Regions from separate parts of the Homo sapiens genome. Here regions 2, 3 and 4 are each linked to region 1. Evidence: promoter capture Hi-C in 16 types of primary human blood cells and fetal thymus (Javierre and others, 2016). All regions are on one chromosome and are shown on one strand. The core of a region is centred on a gene start or on the middle of the fragment in contact, and the rest is flanking DNA. Distances in the headings are between cores, read along the strand shown. Region 1 holds the start of GOLT1A (golgi transport 1A). Region 2 overlaps PLEKHA6 (pleckstrin homology domain containing A6). Region 3 overlaps PLEKHA6 (pleckstrin homology domain containing A6). Region 4 overlaps PLEKHA6 (pleckstrin homology domain containing A6).

Region 1 (3,156 bases), core at 366-2,865:
TGGGAGCTATTTTGACAATACACACATACCTAAGACTGAGTTCCTTTGCATGCACATCATACTTCTATATTATCTCCACCTTGTGCTCTCTAATTTGCCTTGCTATGTTATCCCTATTTCAATTAAGATGCTTTCCCTCTCATCATATGCAAGTACGTCTGGTCTGTTATTCCTTATCTAACAGTTTTTATTCTATGTTCACTTCCTGCTACTCTTTCATTTTCTTGCATGTGTGTGATTTTTGTTTTTGCATAGAATGGCTCATCTTCTATTTCTCTTAAATTCAAACATATATTATGTGTGGGTGCAAGCAATCTGCCTATTTCATTTATGTCTTCTGGTAAGTCTTGCCTGAACATTTATATATTGAAAGACATCATGTTTTATTATAATTTATCTTTTTGTTTCTTTTTAAAAAATTATGTTAGCTTTCCTTGGTTTTGTTGTTGTTGTTTGGTTTGTTTTTTTTTGAGACAGGATCTCGCTCTGCTACCCAGGCTGGAGTGCATGGCTTGATCACAGCTCATCGCAGCCTCGACCTTCTGGGCTCAAGCAATCCTCCTACCTTAGCCTCCCCAGTAGCTGGGACTACAGGCAGGTACCACCACATCCGGCTAATTTTTTATTTTTATTATTGTAGAGACAAGGTCTCACTATGTTGCTCAGGCTGGTCTCAAACTCCTGGGCTCAAGCAATCCTCCTGCCTTGGCCTCCCAAAATGCTGGGATTACAGACATAATGCATTTTGTATGCCAGGCCTATTTGCATTTTTAAATGATGTATATAGGTAGTCTTTGAAATTCATTTCTTCATTTCTGGACACAGAAGACATTGCAAAGTGGATGTTGGCTCTCCTGGCATCAATGCCACGTCAGAACCACTGCTCTGCGATGGGAAAAAAGGATGTTAGGAACTAACTGCCTCTCTTTTTGCAGGCCCAAAGGACGAATCCATGTCTACACAGCTGGTGGGTAGACTAGAACCAGGCCTCCTAAATTGTGCAGTCCTGCCCCAACCCCAAATTCAGGGCTTTGTCTTCCATAGCTCAACATCACAGTCAGTCCAAAGCTTGGACGCCGCTTGGGGAAAGGAGGTCGAAGACCTTCACGTCTAACTTCCCCCATGGCGCTTTTGCCATTGATTTAACCCGATCTGGCTCTGCCATTAGGTCAACAACAGGCTTTGTGCTCAGTCGCTCATCGCCTCCCAGCGCCTAGCATGTGCAATAGCAGAGAGCAAAAAGCTTGACTTTCAAGATGAATTTAGTACATTCCCAAAGGGATGCGCAGATGCCAACTCTTCCCACACTATCAAACCAAGCAAGAAACTTGAGCACCCCCTAGATTCCAATGCTTCCACATACAATCTAAGTTTCGCGGAGCAGACGAGAGCCGCAGAACACCGCGAGGTGCGAGGAAAGGGTCAGGTGGGCGGTGCCTTCCCCGGGCAGGCGCGGCAGGTGGAGGGGCGGGGCATTGCCCTACCGGAAAACGGGAGGAGGGAGCTGGCGAGTAGAAGCACCTGCGTGGTGTGCGGGGGTGGAGCGGGGGCTGGAGGGAGAGTTAATGATTTGCCACAGGCTCATTTCGCAACTTAACCAAGGGTCAGCTTCCCGTGACCATGTACCAGCTGCGTCCTCTGGGCCACGCTCCACTTGCCCGCTTCCACCCGGAAAGCCCCCCAGGCTGAGTGCGGCATGATCTCCATCACCGAATGGCAGAGTAAGTGGGATGAGCGGGGCTGCAATGGGCTATCCAGGCCAGGCTCCCTGCCGGCTGGCTCTCTCTCCCAGCTGGGCTCTCTGTCACTACAAGCGTGACCTCTGGAGCCAGGGGCTGGGAGATGCTGTGCTGGCACCCTGGGGCAGCAGGCAGGGTGGGGTGTGGCTCCCTACCCTCCAGCGGGTGGGAGTTGCTCAGGGCCCACAGGTAGCTAGAGGCTGGTGCCCAGGGGGCCTGGCAGGTTCCCCATTCACACTGACCCCTTTCCCATCCCGGGTTCTTAGAACTGGGTTGCCACAAAGGTGGACTCAGGAGGCCTCTGCCCATTCAGACATCTTTCCCCACACCATCAAGGTCTCCTGTGGCCCTGGGGGCTTCTTATAAAAAACTAAACTCCACTCCCCTGACCAAACCACCATACCCTCACTCCTAAACATCCTTCCCCTTCTTTTGGGGGAAGAGGTAGGGAGGAGGTCTTGGAACAAGTCTGGGGCCATGGGAAGAACCGTGGCTCTGTGGGCTTCATTTGGGTGAGTTACTTAAAGCCTCTGAGCCTTGGTTTTTCATCTGAGAATTGGTGACAACATTCTTTTGTTCACTCAACAGATTTGTCTCTGCTGTGTGCCAAGCACTGTGTTGGATATAGAGTGTCCAACATTAAATGAAACTGACTCCCTGCTTACATTCTAGAGAGGGGAGACAGGTAATTAACAGAAAGAAGTATATAGTATATCAGAAGATGATAAGTCCTCCAGATGAAAATAAAACAAGAGGAGGCTATGGAGTTCGAGGTAGGAGGGGTCGCTATTTTATATAGAGTGGTCAGGGAAGCCTCACTGAGAAGGTGAGCCTTTATTCAGATCTTTTTTCAGAGATCTATAGGAAGTGAGGAAGCAAAGCCACGCAGCTCTCTGGAGGGGAAATGTTCAGGAAGCAGGGACAGGCAGTGCAAAGGCCCTGAGGCATTAGCATACTTGGTGTGTTTGAAGAACAACAAGGAGGTGGGTATACCTGGAGCAAAGTGAGGTGAGGGGAGAATCATAGGAGTTTAGGTCAGGGATGTCACTGAGGGGTCAGGACACTGGAGACTTATAGACCATGGTAATGACCTTGGTTTTGTGCTATGGTGTGATATGTTCTATTTCTATGTTTAAAAGATCATTCTGGGTGCTGGGTTGAGAATAGACTGTGGAGGTATGAAGGCAGCAGCAGGGAAGCCAGTTCTTTTTTTTTTTTTTTTTTTTTGAGACAGAGTCTCACTCTGTCGCTCAGGTTGGAGTACAGTGGCATGATCTCTGCTCACTGCAACCTCCACCTCCTGGGTTCAAGCGATTCTCCTGCCTCAGCCTCCTAAGTAGCTGGGGTTACGGGCACCCACCACCACACCTGGCTAATTTTTGTATTTTTAGTAGAGATGGGGTTTCTCCACGTTTAC
Region 2 (3,156 bases), core at 439-2,938, 120 kb before region 1:
CGGGATAATGGGTGGCTTTTGTGTGAGTCCTTCTCTTTGCACTGTGTCAGCAAACACAGAGGGTTTGTTTTCTAACATTCAGCTACCCTGCTGGGGAATAACACACCCCCCTCCCACTCACTCCATCCCTGTCATCCAGTCCACCCTTCCCTTTCCCTGTCCTGGGTGACAGAACATGTTCCAATTTTCCAAAATATTGTCTCCTTCCAATTCTCATGCGGTCATGACCCCATTTTTTTGATTTGTGAGGTCTAACTTGTACTTTTAAAAAAGTAATGCTTAATTAACTTTGCCTAAAAATGGGTAAGCAAATGTTAAAGGATATGCCTATTCCATGTGCCTCCTGATCTTTGTTAATATAGTTTATATAGTTGTAATTAGTTTATACAGTTAATATAGTTTATATAGTTGTAATCCTGTGTTTATATAGTTGTAATTGATGTGTAGCTAGTGTCTTGTGTCATGAATTTCTTTTTTGTTTAATATTATTTTATACAAACACTCCCAGGTATGATAATGATCTATAAATTTGTCATTTTAAATAGCTATAAGTAATTCTGTCATGTTGCTCCATTACTGGATTGCTTTTCTCTTATTACTGAGAATTTGGGTTGTTTCCAATTTGTTGCTATTATGAATAGCTCTGCTATAAATGTCTTTACATGTACTGATTTTCCCCCTAGTTATTTCCCTGGGGGTTCATTGAATTATGAAGTTATATTGATCTGGGATCCTGTTGGGAAGAATGGAGGGGCTTGGGGAGCTGGAGGCTACTGGGAAAGTTTAACTGATTCCCTCCTCTCCCTCTCCCAGCACACAATTCCTCTTCTTCTCACCTCTTTTCACATCCATTTTGAGTATGATCCTTGCCCCAATTTCCCTAGTAACAGCCCAGGTTGGTGAGATGGAGACTTAGTGTTCCGGTTATGTATTGCCGCATAGCAGGCCACCCAAAATGTAGTGGCTGAGAACAAGGGCTGATGCCTGTCTCTCAGGGTTCTCTAGGTTGACTGGGCTCGGGGAGGGGTAGCCCTTGCTTGGGTCATTTCCGGCCGTGGCCATCCTCTGAAGGCTCGACTGGCTGGGCTGCCAGGGAGGCTCCTCACATGTCTGGCAAAGGATGCCAGCTGTCATCGGGGAGCTCAGCGGGGCCTGTCAACCTGAGCACCACAAGTGGCCTCTCCACGTGGCTTGGACTTCCCTCAGTGAGGCGGTTGGTTCTAAGACAGAATGTCTCAAGAGAGCGTTCCAGGAGACCCAAGTGGAAACTGCAAGACTTCTTATGCCCTAGCCTCAGGAGTCACACAGAGTCATGTCCGTTACATGCTGCTGGTCCAACTGAGCCTGCCCGGATGCACGGGGTGGGGAATTGACTCCACTTCCCAATGGGAGGGAACAGCAAAGAATCTGCAGACCTTTTTGGTCTTCCACTCTTGAAGACTGAAAGCATGTATTGGTTAGTAGCCTATGCATCCTACCGGGGTCTGCCTTAGGAGAGGCCATGCGAGAGTCCCTCTCCCCATCCCCTTCATTTCCACAGAAGCAGTCTGCTCCTGTCTTACTTCCATTTACCAAAATCCTGCCCGTTTTCAGAAGTCATCTGATCTCTCAGCCTTCCCTGGTTGCCCACAGGAGCCACAAGTCTCCCTGTCTTTATCTGCCTTTGTCTCACATGGCTCTTCTCACAGTTGTTTATGGGCTTGGCTTGCTAGGTTGTAAACTCTTGGAAGGCAAAGACTCTGTCATGTTCTTCTTGTTAATCTCAACACCCCACCCTAAAGACCTAGTAAAGTTCCTGGCATAGAAAAGGGCTTCCATAAATTCCATCTGCTTTCCCCTTTTTCACACATTTGAGACTGCACTTCCTGTTGAACTAATGAGTTCTTATGAACTAATGACCTTAATGGAGCGGGGGATGGTGGGAAGAGAACAAGCACTTGCCACACACTTTGTATGTGCATTTAACAGAGCAGGCTAGGAGCTTTACATATATTCTTTCACATATGTAAAAGAATTCTTTTACATTCTTTTACATATGTGGCAGCCACTGGGAAGGGACTTCCTTGGTAGAGCTGGAAAGTAAGTAGCAGCATTCCTATTTTATAGAGGATGGAGTTGAGGTTTGGAAATGTTAGGTAACATGTGCACAGTGACATAGTTGGGTCACCTAGTTAGAAAGTCGTGGAGCCATAATTCAAATCTAGGTCTTCGGGAATTTAAGGCACACATTCCCTTCTGTAGGCTTAACCTCTTGGAACCTCAGTTTCCTCATCTGTAAATGGAGAGAAGAATACTTCATAGGGTTGTTTGGATGAAAAGAAATAAGACTGTAAGCCATCCAGGGCTGCACTTGGCATCAAGTGGGCATTCATTCCCTATTGCCTGTCATGCCATGGCTTCTTGTTCTCAAGGCTTTGACAAGCACTTTACCCACCTGGCATGCTTTATGGCTGGCAACGCAGTTGACGGGTTTGCCCTCCTCATCTTTGGGTGTGTGCGTTGTTCACCAGCATACATATGACTATTGTGGTACGTGCCTCCCAATTGCTCCTCCCCTTCCACTGGAGCACAAGTGAGTCATTTTCCCTGGATTCCCCCCCCAAGTGAGAGACCGCCATCTTCTTTCTAACACAGTGCAGACAGCCAGGTCTCCAGTCACCCCGGAGGCTTCTCCTAGAGCAGCTGAGGTGAGGGATTCCACCCTTCCACATTAATTGCTTTTGTTTGCTCCTTTAAAATTAATTCCAACGAGAGCTCATTAATTCTTTCTTTTTCCTCATCTCATGCTCACTTGTTGTCTTCACTACTCAGTTCTGTTTTCCATTTTTTGGTCTTGCTCTGTCTCAGAGCATGTAGGAGCCCCATTCAGAATGATTCTGCAATGGTGACATCTCGCCGGGTGAGTTAGGATGTAGGCTAGTAAGAAGGTAGCAGCTACTGGGAAGGGGCTTGCTTGGTAGAGCTGGGGAGAGCTACAATTTATGTCTTTTGCTTCCTGATTCCCTTCCTTCTTATTCCTTTGGCTCTGGTCTCCTCATTCTCTGGCCTGAAGCATTGCCTGGGAAGGGAGGAGCTGGCTGGTTTAGGCGTCCACTAGTCTGGTCTGATCTGTCCCTTCATTCCCCAACTCAGTTTCATCTCCAACTCCCCTGCCTG
Region 3 (3,156 bases), core at 275-2,774, 100 kb before region 1:
CTCAAATCAGGAAAGGCTTTCCAAACTGGAGCCCCTGCCTGGAGCTAGGACCCAGGGCTGCTAGCTGTCCCTGAGGGCCTCTTTAGGCCTGGATTGGTATTCTATCAGCAGTACCCTATGCTTAACTCTTTGGTTTAACTTTCTGAGACATTTTTATATTTACCAAGTTATTTTATGCTCAGAAGAGCTGAATTTGGTGAGCACAGGTTCCATTCCATTCTACAGGTGGGGAAAAGAGGCTGAGAGATGCTCAGTGATTTGGTCCAGGCTGGAGGAGACTGGAAGGTACCTCCAGATGTCCAGTTCTGGTTATTTCAGCTGCAGATGGCACGGTAGATTATGTGATTGGCCTTGGAGGTGTTTAAGGAGTGGATACGAGGAGGCCGCTTTATCTGTCTGGGGTTCATCATTTGGCTTCTCCGTTCTTCAGCCCTAGTTGCGCCTGGTAAAATACCAGTAGGGTGATTGAGTCCCACCCTGGGATATCCTAACGCAGATGCCAAAGGAAAGAGGAATGAGCTGACATCTTTATTGATTTCCCTAGTGGGGAATGGGTTCAAATAGGTAAGTTTGATACCTGTATTGAGCTCTCCAGTGGAGAATGGGCTTAAATTCCAGTTGGCCAGATAAAAGTTAAATCAAAGACTGGGAGGCCAGAAAAGATGGGAAACCGAGGGAAACTGTGACCTTTTAGAAGGACCTCCATCTCTCTGGAATGAGTTAGCCAAGTCACCGTGCCAATGAGTGGGGAGGCAGGGCAAACTCAGCTCCGGAGGCTCTGCCAGCTCTGGGTGGTGCTGAGTGAACCCTACCCCCACATATCCTGCAAAGGCACTGGGAACAAGGGGTTGGGTACCCCTGGACTCACCCATTGAAAGCATTTCTCCCGTGTCCCTATTCTGAGCGGCCTGCAGCTGTCTTTCCCGGCAGCTGTCTCCCTGAGCCTACTTGGGTTTCTTGTGGGCACAGGGAGTGCTCCAACACCCACTCTCCACATCCTGTATCGAGAAAGTCAGGTTCTTACCCAACCAGGGCCTCTCCTCCCCTTGTCAGTCCCGATGTTTCTTTTAATAGTTTAAAAAGTTAGAAAAATATTTTTCAGAGCTTTAGTTGCTCCTGAGAAATTCTAGCTTCCTCCCACTGGGAGTGAGCCTTCAAAGATCATTTATCCATTGATCAACGAGAAAATATTTATTGAGCGGGAGCCACCTCGCGCATTGCATTACATGCATCGTGGGACTCCACAGTCTGGCCCCCAAATACCCGTCCAGCTTCATTTAGTTATGAGGAATAAGCAAGCTTATAAATAGGAAGCATTCCCACAGTGTCCATAGTAAACACACAGTAAATGTTTATAGAATTATCGTTACTTCCCAACACGAACCTTTACCTAGTCCAGGTACCCCAGTAATCTCCCGTCTCCTTAATGTGACTCCCTCTAAAACGCCCAGCCTCCTCCTCTCATGCTGTCGTCTCCATGCTGTGGCCTCCCCTGGGCATCTCCCCGGCTCCCCACTCACGCTGCCCTCATCCCAGGCTGCCTGTCACGGGAGGATGGTTTTGTTGGTTTGCTTTTATCTGTATCCACTCTCTAGATTAGGGTTTCCTTGAAGGTGGGGACCACATCTCTGCTCAGTCTCTAGCACTGTCATGCTCAGGACATTTCTAGGGAATGACTGGCTAACATATGCCTACAACTTCACGGCGGAGGGGGTTTTCTGTGGGCTGGGGGTGTTTAACTGAAGCTTTCTGGAAGAGGTGGCATTTGAGCTCAGCCCTAACACGGTGTCCACCTGCCTTCCCCTGGGAGATTTGGATTTAACAGGCATCTGGGGGAGAGGGAAGGGGAATGACGCTGCCAGAGCAGGAATGCCTAAGGCCTTTCGGGGAAATGTTGCAAAGTTCAGTCAGGTTGAACTAGAAAACTTACACATGGAGCCATAGAATATGACGTTTGAAAGATGAGTGGGGACGTGCCGCAGTGGGCCTTGGATGCCAAACCGTGGAGGTGGACCCTTATGTAGCAGGCAGGGGAGGGGTAACCACTGAGGATTTCTGAGCAAGAGAGTCACATGATGAAACAGGTATTGAGCCATAGCCAGTGGAGGGGAAATTGGCTTTAATTTTAAAGGCCAAGGACAGAGTCCTAAATGTCCTCTTATCACCCATTTCAAGTGATTCTTACTATCTAACCTAAACCATTCCTGCTGTAATCAAAGTCCAGTTTGTCTCACAGGAACTGGAAAACAGCTGGACAGGGCTGTCATTCTCCCATTTCTGCCAGAGTGAACCCACATATCTTGGTGTGGTGCAGGAGTGTGTGCCAGCGTTCCGAGCCAAGCTGGCAGAGCTCTGGATCACATGAGGGCACCGAGGCCTACATTGATACCTCTAGGGGTTGGATTTGGAGTCACTGAAGCCCCTGTGGAATTAGAAGACCTAGATCCATCCCTGAGTACTATTCCCTACTCCCCAAATACCAGCATACATGCTGTCCCTGTGAAAAGCTTGTGGGCATCCATACCAGCATCTCTACCGCCCCTGCGCCATTGTGGAGGTAAGAGATGAAGTGGATAAAGGTCTCTGAGGCAGGGAGATAAGGGCCTAGAAGAAAGACAAGCTTGACTCAGGGAAGGGCACAGGAGAAGAAGTTAAGGAGGATTCTGCTATTTCTCGCCCCAGCTTGGTTGGGATACTCATCTGACACCTGAGAGTGAGGTCCGCCAGGAGCTACAGAGGCAGCAGGTGTCTGTCTATTCCCCTCCAGTCTCCTTGGTTAGACCATCCCCAGGCCAGGGGGAGTGGTGGCCAGTTAGGATCAGTCTTGTCGTTCCAGGATCCTTCTCTGCACTTACTGTTGGCCCAGTCACTCCATTGTCGTCTGCAGGAGTATTAGATGAAATTCCAGAGACTTCAGTCTCTAAAGAAGAAAGCTTTTCTAGAACAGGGAATTTATTTCTCTCCCCGGGCTCACAGGGGAAGTGGAACATTCCATTTGAAGGGTGAAACAGGAACAGGTGAGCTACAGTTCAGACAACAGGACTCTGAGACACAGGTTGAGGGAGTGGCTGAGCCACTCATGCTGTCCACCTCTGTCTCTGCCATCTTATTATCAATCTGTTTGAGGGCACCTTGCTTCCTGTGCCCTGATCTCAA
Region 4 (3,156 bases), core at 318-2,817, 80 kb before region 1:
CTTAGAATGGACTGCTTTCAACCATGACACACACACAAAAGCCCACCTCCCAGTTCAAATTACACTAGGAACAGACCTCCCTCACATTTGAGATTCTCAGGTGTTAATTGTTCTGGCTCCTAAGTACAGGGGAGAGGGTACTATCTTGATGGATAACTTCTTTAGGAACAAATTATTAAGCATCCATCTGTAGGTGTCAAAGTGGTGAGGGGTTTTATAATCAAAATTGAGCCACTGTCTCCTAAGGATAAATAGCCCAAGGCAGATGCAGACAGATAATAATGATTATTAGCATTTATTGAACATTTACTAAGTGCCAGAACCTTTCATAAATTTTTTGTGGGTATAATCTTATTTACTCCTGTGACGAACCCATGAAGAAGGTCCGTATATTATCCCGTTTTCACAGATGGGGGAATGAAAGCACAGAGAGGTTAAGTTTCTCACCCAGAGTCCCTTAGGTAGTAACTGGTGGAGCCGGGATTGGAACTGGGGCAGTCTGACTCCAGAGCCAAAAATCTCAAGGCTAATGCGGATTCAACTCAATAAAAATAAACGAAAGGATTAGCTGGTAGGATGATGCATGAGAAGGGAATTTCAAGTTGCACAACTAACATAAAGTGGGAAGAAAGCTGGCTTTGGGCTGTGTCCTGGGCTCTAATCCCAGTTCTCTCACTTCCTAACTGTGTAGCCTTGGGCTAATAACCTGACCTCTCAGGTTCTTCCTCCGCAACAGCAGGACAGCAATACCTATCTCTGGGGGTTAAGCAGAGAATTCGCTAGCATCATGACTTGGATAGGTGTTAATTTCCTTTTTCTTTCTGTGCTAGTTGTCAAGTTTTCCTGGGAGGGTGAAGGGTAATTTGGGAATTCAAGGTTAATTCTTATTTCAAGAAGAAATGTCCAACCAGCCCTCCAGTACCCTATCTTCTGGACAAGATTTTCTGCCATCACCACTTCCTCCGTATCCTCCTGGGATGGCCTGGAATTGGAGGAGAGACAGGCTGGAGAGAGAGAAGGGTGTTTGGCTTAATGCAGCTGTCAAGCAGCTGTCACGCTCTGGCCACTCTTTCTTCATCTTCTCTTTTTCCTTTTAAAAACAAGGACATTCTCTTGCATAACCACAGTACAATTAACAGACTCAGGAAACTTAATAACATCGATACAATTCTATTATCTAATATACAGTCCATATTGAAATTTCACCAGTTGTCCTAATAATGTCATTAGAATCCAATTCAGGATCATGTCTCTTTCCTCTCAGTCTGGAAAGTCCCTCAGCCTTTCTCCATGTTCATGCATTGAAGTTTTCTTAAAGAGCACAGGATCCTCTCTGGGACTTCCTGAGCCTTGTCCCGTCTTTCCTCATCCCTGAGCAGGGCTGACTAGAGTAAGGCGATTAATACACTCCCCTTAGGTACAAAATGTCTTACATTTTGCCAAATGGGTGCCAAAAAACTCGGTAGTCAAGATAAATAACATTTCAATGCAATAATTTTAAAATCAAAATCAATGCAAACATTTCATGAAGAACAAAATAGTAACATTCGAAATAAAGACAGGATCTAAAACAGTGCCACTTTAAGCCAAATTGGAGGCTGAGGCAAAAGGGAAATTCCAGTGATACTGGTCCTGTCTTTATTTGAAATGTTGGTATTTCATTCATCATGGGTTTTTAATGTTAATTTTTATTTCAAAAATATCGCGTTAAAATAAGTCTTGATTGGCCGGGTGCAGTGGCTCATGCTTGTAATCCCAGCACTTTGGGAGGCCAAGGCGGGCGGATCACCTGAGGCCAGGAGTTCGAGATCAGCCTGGCCAGCATGGTGAAACCGTATCTCTACTGAAAATACAAAAATTAACTGGGTGTGGTGGCACATGCCTGTAGTCCCAGCTACTTGGGAGGCTGAGGCAGGATAATCGCTTGAACTTGGGAGGCAGAGGTTGCAATGAGCCAAGATCGCGCCACTGCACTGCAGCCTGGGTGACAGAGCAAGACTCCATCTCAAAGAAAAAAAAAAAGTCTGATTACTGAGTTTTTGGATGCCCCTTAAACTTTGTGCTCCCTCCCCCACTCCCACAGTGTGGGCTTGCTCCCTCTCCCAGTCATCCCACCCTCAGAACAAGTTGGGGGAGAGAGGTGGGGCTCCATGCCAGGAGGAGGAAGGTTAGGGTACAGAGAAGAGGCGGGAGGGGAGGGGTACAGAGGCCTGGAACGCAGCCGTGTGTCTGGCCGGGAGCTCTCTAACACTAACAGCTTCCAGCTGCTTCCACAACCTCCAGACTTCCGCCTTGGGAGTGGCATTTGGTTGTTTTTTATTCCCCCTCTTCACATCAAATGTGTGATCTAATTAGACTTTGCATCCCTCATTTCTATCAGTCTTCCCTGTCTTGCAGTGCTCCCCTTAGTTGACCTGTCCTGACCCTGTTTCCATCCATCCCAGGAGCCTCTCAGGTGCTGCCACTGGCATGCTCCAGGAGCATCCACCCAGTGCTGGGTGAGCACCACAAAGACCAAGCCAGGGCAAGAGACACAGGTAGGCGTCAGCCAGGGTGAGGGAAATGGGGGGCATCAGCCAGGGCGAGGGACACAGGTGGGCATCAGCCAGGGTGAGGGACATAGGTGGGCGTCAGCCAGGGTGAGGGACACAGGTGGGTATCAGCCAGGGTGAGGGACATAGTGCCCGGGTGAGGGACATAGGTGGGCATCAGCCAGGTCGGGGCAGCTCCTTGTGGCCCTGAGGAAAGAGCTTCGGACTGAGGTTAACAGACCCCGAGGTTAGCCTTGCCTCAGGTATATGAGGTGGGTTATCTCAGCCAACACTTCCAGCTTCAGGGATTTTGTTTTGTAAAATGAGGGTGGTACTAACACTTTTCTGCCCACCTCATAAGACCATAAAAGAACCAAATGAGATAATGATGACAGTGCTTTGTGAACCGTAAAGGATTTTATTTGATATTTTCCCTTCTGTCATAGAACAAATAATCCTTTATTTTGATGAAGACCGTATTCAGGTCTGCTACATTATTTGATCTAAATCCATGAGAAGAGTAAAGGCGGATTCAGGACACATGTTCATCTCTGCCTGTAACCAGCATTTCTGTCAGACTAAAGCAGGTCAGTAGGAAACCATACCCATTCCCACCCTCATTCCA

Evidence for each region. Contacts are between HindIII fragments. The CHiCAGO score rates a contact against its expected background, and 5 or more counts as called.
Region 2: a fragment that was not itself captured here is called in contact with the fragment with the promoter of GOLT1A in region 1 in 1 of 17 cell types (megakaryocytes); the score reaches 6.3 in megakaryocytes.
Region 3: a contact is called between a fragment that was not itself captured here and the fragment with the promoter of GOLT1A in region 1, in 1 of 17 cell types (megakaryocytes). The highest score is 5.3, in megakaryocytes.
Region 4: a contact is called between a fragment that was not itself captured here and the fragment with the promoter of GOLT1A in region 1, in 1 of 17 cell types (megakaryocytes). The highest score is 5.5, in megakaryocytes.

The regions. Positions count from the first base shown.
Region 1 is chr1:204,212,447-204,215,602 of GRCh38, reverse strand. It overlaps GOLT1A (golgi transport 1A), which reads left to right and starts at 1,615. Exons shown (of 5, transcript NM_198447.2): 1 at 1,615-1,721. The coding sequence starts at 1,697. RefSeq lists an enhancer at 1,088-1,744. The HindIII fragment of the contact is 7,307 bases long and covers 1,246-3,156 here.
Region 2 is chr1:204,337,162-204,340,317 of GRCh38, reverse strand. The region is part of intron 1 of PLEKHA6 (pleckstrin homology domain containing A6); the gene reads left to right. Among named protein-coding and RNA genes, the nearest start is that of PLEKHA6, 21 kb to the left of the region's middle. RefSeq lists enhancers at 1,424-2,207, 2,992-3,156. The HindIII fragment of the contact is 9,408 bases long and covers 1-3,156 here.
Region 3 is chr1:204,314,156-204,317,311 of GRCh38, reverse strand. The region is part of intron 1 of PLEKHA6 (pleckstrin homology domain containing A6); the gene reads left to right. Among named protein-coding and RNA genes, the nearest start is that of PLEKHA6, 44 kb to the left of the region's middle. The HindIII fragment of the contact is 446 bases long and covers 1,302-1,747 here.
Region 4 is chr1:204,292,004-204,295,159 of GRCh38, reverse strand. All of the region lies in intron 1 of PLEKHA6 (pleckstrin homology domain containing A6), which reads left to right. Among named protein-coding and RNA genes, the nearest start is that of PLEKHA6, 66 kb to the left of the region's middle. The HindIII fragment of the contact is 6,726 bases long and covers 1-3,156 here.